3 separate regions of the Homo sapiens genome follow, and all the other regions are linked to region 2. Evidence: promoter capture Hi-C in 16 types of primary human blood cells and fetal thymus (Javierre and others, 2016). All regions are on one chromosome and are shown on one strand. Each heading gives the region's core, a stretch centred on a gene start or on the middle of the fragment in contact. The rest is flanking DNA. Distances are from core to core; before and after follow the strand shown.

The links. Contacts are between HindIII fragments. The CHiCAGO score rates a contact against its expected background, and 5 or more counts as called.
Region 1: a contact is called between a fragment that was not itself captured here and the fragment with the promoter of RGS9 in region 2, in 7 of 17 cell types (M1 macrophages, naive B cells, naive CD4 T cells and 4 more). The highest score is 7.7, in M1 macrophages.
Region 3: a fragment that was not itself captured here is called in contact with the fragment with the promoter of RGS9 in region 2 in 3 of 17 cell types (fetal thymus, activated CD4 T cells and naive B cells); the score reaches 5.5 in fetal thymus.

What each region holds. Positions count from the first base shown.
Region 1 is chr17:66,163,365-66,166,064 of GRCh38, forward strand. The region is part of intron 4 of CEP112 (centrosomal protein 112); the gene reads right to left. Among named protein-coding and RNA genes, the nearest start is that of CEP112, 27 kb to the right of the region's middle. The HindIII fragment of the contact is 3,636 bases long and covers 1-2,700 here.
Region 2 is chr17:65,135,939-65,138,638 of GRCh38, forward strand. RGS9 (regulator of G protein signaling 9) reads left to right here and starts at 1,432. Exons shown (of 19, transcript NM_003835.4): 1 at 1,432-1,659. The coding sequence starts at 1,603. RefSeq lists a silencer at 1,122-1,621. The HindIII fragment of the contact is 12,932 bases long and covers 1-2,700 here.
Region 3 is chr17:66,183,301-66,186,007 of GRCh38, forward strand. It overlaps CEP112 (centrosomal protein 112), which reads right to left. Exons shown (of 27, transcript NM_001199165.4): 2 at 1-7. Among named protein-coding and RNA genes, the nearest start is that of CEP112, 7.5 kb to the right of the region's middle. The HindIII fragment of the contact is 2,315 bases long and covers 178-2,492 here.

The DNA of each region.
Region 1 (2,700 bases), core at 62-2,561, 1.0 Mb after region 2:
CAGGTAATATTGTTATATACCATCTGCAGAACAGTCTTCTTTGGGTATATTACTAAATATACTTATGAAACATAAAAATAAATAACAATTAATAATCCAGTAAAGTATCAAATAATGCTGAAAATTAAAAAATGAAAATAACTTCCAAAAATCCACAACATACTTATTTTAATTTTTCAAAAAGAACTTTATTAGAAAGAAAAAGAAAACTAAATGAAAAAAAATGAGATGCTTAACAAAACTAGAAAAAGGTGAGCACAGATCCATAAACACTTTAAGACTTCGTATTTCCAACTACTTACTTTAAAATGGCACACTTGATTTTAAAACTTAAAAATAAAAACAAATTTAAAAATCGTACATTTAAATCATTGTTTATTAATATATCTCTGACTTAGAACACTCAATATTTAAATTTCATTAAAATTAAATGTTAAAATATAAGCTGTTATCCATTTTTGTTTATTAAAAAGGACAACCCAAACTGTTCAATATTACCTGACAAACAGAAACTTGTGAAATTAAAAGATGTCATTACAAAGCCTCACTCATTAAAAGAAAGAAAAAGAGAAATGTGACTAAATTGTCAGAAAGCTGACTTACTGGGGGAGAAAAAAGCCTAAATGGCCCAAGGACCATTATTTTCAAAGCTGCTCCATCCCAGTTACAAATAGTTGCCACTTGGCCTCATCTTAGTAAATACCTAAGAGTGACATTTAATTAGCACATTAATGTTGAAAATTAATGAGTAGCTAAGAGGTTTTATATGTGTGAAATGTTGTATTTTATTGTGTACTCTAACAAGCAGTTTTCACTTCTCATTTATGTAGCAGTCCTATTTCTAGAGTACAAGGTTAAGTGTCTATCAGCAAGTGTCCATTGTATAAAAGATTGTCAAATTAGTCAGATTTGGCCAGGCACAGTGGCTCACGCCTGTAATCCCAGCACTTTGGGAGGCCAAGGCGGGAGGACCATTTGAGGTCAAGAGTTGGAGCCCACCCTGGCCAACATAGCAAGACCCCGTCTCTACCAAAAATACAAAAATTAGCCAGGCGTGGTGGCGGGCACCTGTAATCCCAGCTACTCGGGAGGCTGGGGCAGGAGAATCACTGAACCCAGGAGGCAGAGGTTGCAGTGAGGGGAGATCGCGCCACTGCACTCCAGCCTGGGCGACAGTGCGAAACTCTATCTCAAAAAAAAAAAAAAAAAAATGGCCAGCATGGTAGCTCATGCCTGTAATCCCAGCACTTTGGGAGGCCGAGGCATATGGATCACAACGTCAGGCATTCAAGACCAGCCTGGCCAAGATGGTAAAGCCCCGTCTCTACTAAAAATACAAAAATTAGTTGGGCGTGGTGGCAGGCGCCCGTAATCCCAGCTATTCAGGAGGCTGAGGCAGAGAATTGCTTGAACACAGAAGGCAGAGGTTGTGGTGAGCCGAGATCGTGCCATTGCACTCCAGCCTGGGCAACAAAGTGAAACTCCATCTCAAAAAAAATATATATATATATACACACATATATGTGTGTGTGTGTGTGTGTGTGTGTGTGTGTGTGTATATTTATTTATAAACAGTTTCTTTTTTGTTAGTAGGAGCTCCTCTGACAGCAGAAATTGACCAAGAGCAACTAGATGTTGATCATGGGTGATCATCACCAAAAAAGGGAGCTGCCCGTGAAATGCAAGTAAGCACAGAAGAAAGGTCTCCCATGTGGCAGAGCCAGTTTCTATGCACCAGCACCCAAGCCCTAGTCCCCATTCCTACCCCACATCCCCACCGAGACAGAGAACAGGCCACCAGCTCTCCATCTGGTCAGTCAGGTTTTGCAATGGCCAAGCAGAAGATTCGGATCTGGTACTGTTCTGCCCAACACAGTAGCCCCTAATCACATGTGGCTATTTAAGTTAATTAAAATTAGAAATTCAGTTTTTCAATCACACCAGCCACATTTCAAGTGTTCAATAGTCACGTTTACTGGTGGCGACTGTATTGGACAGTGCCGCCTATAGAACATTACCATCAGAAAGTTCTATTGAACAGTACTGCTGTAGAACACATATCTGCCCAAACATCAGGGTTATTCACAAATAAAATGAATGTACTTTTGGCAGGTAATATTTAAGAAGGTTTTACTAAGAAGGAAAGGTATTGATTGGCTCCTTGCTAAATTATCCAACAATTTCAGGAGGAGCAATTTATAATGTTATATAGTATCATTTACATATAAAAGTGGAGTTTAACAAAGTAAAAAGATTCTTTTGCATGCCCAGACTAAAAAATTAAATCAATATTTTTAAAGTGAAAAATGTTTGCTCACATAGATTAACTTCTTCAACCACAAGTGGGTTTTCATTATACTTGATCACCATCTGCTGGCCATGTTATTAAACTGCACACACAAATGAAATGCTAGCTATATTGGGGTAAGACATACAGAATCCCAGCTTTTTGCCACAATGCATTCCTGGAAAACCATATCATAAAGAGGATCATTATAAAGCAAGTCACATTTTCCATAAGGGCAGGACCATAATTAGAATCTTCATTCCAAACTAAAATCTAGCATCAAATAACCCATGGCAAAATCTCATTAAAGCAAAGATGTAAAAACTATAGTCCTCTATAATTATTTAAAATAGGATAATTATTCTCCAAGTTCTTTCTTACAGGTATGAACACATGTATTATTTAGATGACCC
Region 2 (2,700 bases), core at 182-2,681:
GTGCTGGAATTATAGGCGTGAGCCATCACACCCAGCCAAGAACCACTGCTTTAAAGGGACATTGGTTGACTGTGCCTTCCTAAGGTAAAGGCCTTCTTGTTTTCTTCCAACTTAAACATTTTATCTGCTACACTCAATAACCATCGAGTATGTTTAAGAGAAAGTGCTTTATATAACAAAGCAGAAAGGCTCTTGATAATAACTTAGAGGCTTCATCCTTGCATTTTTCTCAAGATGAAAACGCTAACATAATGAGCTGTCAAGGTAGGTTCATCAATTGTAACAAATGGGCCACTCCAGTGGAGGATGTTGATCATGGGGGACGCTGTGCGTGCGTGGGGAGAGGGGATATATGACGTGTCCCTATACCTTCCGCTCAATTGTGCTGTGAACCTAAAACTGCTCTAAGAAATAAAGTCTATTAAAACAAGCAAACCAGCCAGCTGCAGTGGCTCACTCCTGTAATTCCAGCACTTTGGGAGGCCGAGGTGGGTAGATCGATTGAGCCCAGGAGTTTGTGAAACTCCCTCTCCACAAACAATTTTTGTAAAAATTAGCGGGGTGTGGTGGCACGTGCCTGTAGCCCCAGCTACTGGGGAGGCTGAGGTGGGAGGATTGTTTGAGCCTGGGAGGTTGTAGCTGCAATGAGCCATGATTACGCCACTGCACTCCAGCCTGGGTGACAGAGCAAGACCCTGTCTCAAAAAAAAAGTTAAACAACAACAAACCCAACAACCAACTAACCGAAACACTAAGAATCAGAGAAGTAAAATATAATTCGCTTCATCCAGACAGCTAGCCCGGTGAGGACTACAACCTTCCTCTCTTCCTTCTTCACTTCTTTGCTCTCTCTTTTTAAACCCACATCTTAGCAATTCCTCTGCTATTGGGTCATTAAATCGCCACCTCTAATTTTTTTTTCTAAGCATTTATTGAGGGCCAAGCACTGTGTTACACATCTCCTCATTAAAATGGTATAGCAACCTTTTCTGGTCGATATTATGATCCCATTTTTCAATTTTTACTTTTGAGTGAAGGACATTGATTCTTAGAGATTGTAAGGAACTTGCCCAAGGCTGCCGGCTGGTTAGTGGCAGAGCTGGGATGGGAAAGTCCGTATTTTCCACCGCGCTGTATTAGTGAGGGCTCTTTGTGTCACTTCTGTGCATAACTCCGCCCCAAGTTAAAAGGCTCGCTGCTCTCGACAGGTCCTCCTCCTCCTCCCGCTAGGTCCTCCTCCTCCTCCCGCCAGGTCCTCCTCCTCCTTCTCCTCCCGGGGCCCTGCCCTGCGGGTCTCACCTGCTGCTCCGCGGGGTCCCGGCGGGGGCCGGATAGCGCCCCCTGGCGGCAGGTGGGCGCCCGCGCAGCGCATGCTAATGAGCCCGCGGCGCCGCTCGCGGATTGGCTGGCGCGGATTCCAGCTGCTTTCCAAGTCAGCGGCGCCTAGTGAGAGTCAGGGGGGCCCGGCCCGCGCCCTCCCCGCCCAGCCGCCTCCCCGTCGACGCCCAGGGCTGGGGCGAGCCAGGCTGCCTTTCGAACTTGGGGGGCTTCTCCTCTTGTCTCCCACTGGTGCTCTGGCTGTGAATCCATCCAGGGGCCAGGATGACAATCCGACACCAAGGCCAGCAGTACAGGCCGAGGATGGCATTTCTCCAAAAGGTAACCCTGGCCCCTCACCTGGACCCTGGGAGGAGGGCGGGGGACCGCATCTGCGAAGCGTCCGAGGACAAGAGGGGCAGGAGTGGAGAGCACCCCTTTGGGTCGATTTGTGCTGCTCGATTTTATTAAGTGACTTCTTTGCTGTGTGTGTCGATATTGATGGCTATAATAATTAGGTTTTCGTGTGCCCTGCCTGTAGTGGAGAATCTGAAGCCAGCGCTGATGGTCTGCGGGAGGTGAAAACAACCTGTTACTCGGGAGAGGCAGGTTCAGTTCAGGCTGTGGCAGATTTGAGACAGCCTGCTGATATTGTTGTAAGACGACCAGATGTGACATTGCCATTTTTGCCTTTTTTTTCTGATCCCAAACTGCACTATTTTAAAGTGTGTGTGTGTGTACACATAGACCATGAAAACGGGGTGATTTGTAGGATAAAGGGCCACCCCATTTACAATGCCCTGAGAGCCCTCATTTGAGTGTGTCTATCTGTGCATCTCCTGCTGTCTGCGCTGGCGGCAGAAGTCCCAACCTTTTCGCTTCCCTTGCGAATGCTTTCCCAGACAAAGTGACCGGGCACAGGGTGTGCACACAGGATGGACATGTGGGAGGTGGAATGCACCTGTGGGGTGATGTGTTTGGGGACAAAGTGGTTCATTTAGTTCTGAGCTTCTGGTATAATCACTGTCCGATGAGATCTACAGAGGATTAGGTCCCGGGTCACATCTTTGTCCTTCCTCCCACCCGTAGCCACTTTTCACAGCGTAGTGTCCATCTTCTTAGGCTTATCTTGTTGAGTAGAATTAGTTGAATGTTTTGTGACAAGCTGAGCTCTCCCTGAGCCCCTGGAGCTCAGCAAATTTGTATAGTCAGTGACCGCTGTCCTGATTTGCCCAGGACTTTCAATGCTAAAACCTGGACAGTCCTGGGGACCCCGAGACGGTCGCATTTGGTCCACCTGTTTCAAGATGCTCGTGCTCATCTTCCGGGTAGCAGAGGTGTGGGTATCATCTGTAAAGCAGACAGGCTGAATGTTGTCTCACT
Region 3 (2,707 bases), core at 85-2,584, 1.0 Mb after region 2:
ATCCAATCTGTAAAAGATTTTAAATCAAAATATTAAGGATTTGTATGCTGAAAACTACAAAACTCTGATGAGAAAGATAAAAAAAACTCTTAAGTGTTAGATATCAGTTCTCCCCAAATTGACCTGTAGATTTAATGCAACTCCCATCAAAACCCAGCCGTATTATTTGTAGAGATAAGCTTAATTCTAAAATTTACATGAAAAAGTAAAGGAACTAAAGAGCCCAAACAATTTTGAGAAAGTACAAAGTTGGAGAACTCACATTACCAGATTTTAAGATGTACTCCAAAGCCACAGTAGTCAAGACAATTGGTATTGGTGAAAGGATAGACAGATCAGTGGAAAAGATTAGAGAGTCCAGAAACCAGACCAAAACAAACATAAACAACTGATTTTCAACAAAGGTGTGATCCATGAAGAAATGACAGTTATTACAACAAATGATGTCATAACAATTGGATATCCATATACAAAAAAAAAAGAACTTCAACCTAAACTTCATCCTGTATATAAAAATTAACTCAATATGAATCACAGACCTAAGTGTAAAAATGTAAAACTATACAACTCTTACAAGAAAGCATGGGAGGAAATCTTTGCAAACTTGAGTAAGGCTAAGATTTCTTATATACAACATTAAAAGCACTATCCACAAAAGGAAAAACTGACCAGGCATGATAGCTCATGCCTGTAATCCCAGAACTTTGGGAGTCCCAGGCAGGAGGAATGCTTGAGCTCAGGAGTTAAAGACCACCCTGGGCAATTTGGTGAGACCCCATCTCTACAAAACAAAAAAAAAATTAAAAATTAGCCAGGTGTAGTGGCACGTACCTGTAGTCCCAGCTACTTGGGATGCTGAGGTGGGAGAATTGTTTGAAAGTGTGAGAGGTAAAGGCTGCAGTGGGCCATGATCGCACCACTAAACTCTAGCCTCGGTGACAGAGCAAGACCCTATCTCAAAAATAAAAAAGAAAGCTGACATATTGAACTTCACAAAAAAAAACTGTCCTGCAAAGGACGTTGTTAAGGAATTGAGAAGATAAGCCACAGACCAGAACAAAATATTTGCAAATCATACATCTCATACGAGACTTGTATCAAGAATACATAAGGACTCTCAAAATTCAACAATCAGAAAACAAACTACCCCGATAATCAGCAAAAAAAATTAGTCCCTTTACCAAAGAAGAAATACAGATGGCAAGTAAGCACATGACAAGATGCTCAATATCATTACAGAAATGCAAATTAAAACTATACTGAGATACCACTAACATTAAAAATGCAAACAATACCAAGTGCTGGTGAGGATGGACAACAACAGAAACTCTCATGCATTGCTGGTAGAAATACAAAATAGTACAGGCACTCTGGAAAACAGTTTGGCAGTTTCTTACAAAAATAAACATACACTCAGCCTATGACCCAGAAATCCCACTCCCAAGTATTTAGCTAAGTGAAAAGAAAAATCTATATACACAAAAAAATCCAAATGTGATTTTTTTTAAATAACCACCAAACAACTGAAAACAGCCCAAATGTCCCTCAAATGGTGACTAGATAAACTGTGGCATATCCACACAATAACATAGTACTCAGCAACAGAAAGGAATGAACTGCTGATACACACAAAACATGGAAACTTCAAATCCTTATGCTAAGTGAAAGAAGCCCTTCTCAAAAGGCTGCATACTAATTCCATTTGTGTGACATTCTAGAAAAGGCAAACAATATAGGCATAAAGAACAGATCAGCAGCTCATGGGGATAGCAGTGGGGGCAGAGTCTCAACACAAAGGGATGGCACAAAGAAACGATTTGGCATGTTGGAATTTTTCTGTACACTATCTATGTAGGAAGTTATAAGAACCTACAGTGGCAAGAACTATATGCCAAAAAAAGTGCATTTGCTGTATATAAGTTAAAAAAAATTTTTTTTGAGACAGAGTCTTGCTCTGTTCTCCAGGCTATGGAGTGCAATGGCACAATCTTGGCTCACTGCAACCTCCGCCTCCTGGGTTCAAGTGATTCTCCTGCCTCAGACTCCTGAGTAGCTGGGATTACAGGCACACACCACCATGCCCGGCTAACTTTTCTATTTTTAGTAGAGATGGGGTTTCACCATGTTGGTCAGGCTGGTCTCGAACTCCTGACCTCGTGATCCATCCACCTCAGCCTCCCAAAGTGCTGGCATTACAGGCATGAGCCACTGCGCCCCGCCAAATTTAAACTTTTTAATCCTTTTTAAAAACTGTAAAATATTGGTCATCATACTTCCTTCTAATTAACAAGAAAAACACTGAATACAAAGGGGGTGAATCCCAAAAATCAAAAGTGTAGGTTTTGACAAAATTTGTTAAGTTAAAAATACATACACACACTACATGTTCCTTTAAACTGTGAAATGTCCTGATAGGGATGTGCGCTACCTTTACATTATGAATAGTGCCAATTTGTCATTTATTCCATTTACAAATTCTATATTCGGTGAAAAGCTTTGTTCTGCCTCATAAGCTATCTTGCTCCACAAACTGCCCTCTATCTGCTAAACCAGCTTCTAATATTTACCACATTATCAAATGGTTTCCATCATTTCATCATTAACAACCTCTTCATAGAAAGTTCTCTCTACCCTGTCTCTGTAAGTAAATCGTAGCTTTTACTTGCTGACTTTACTTTCCTCAGTCATTAGAGGTAAGCCAAGGTCT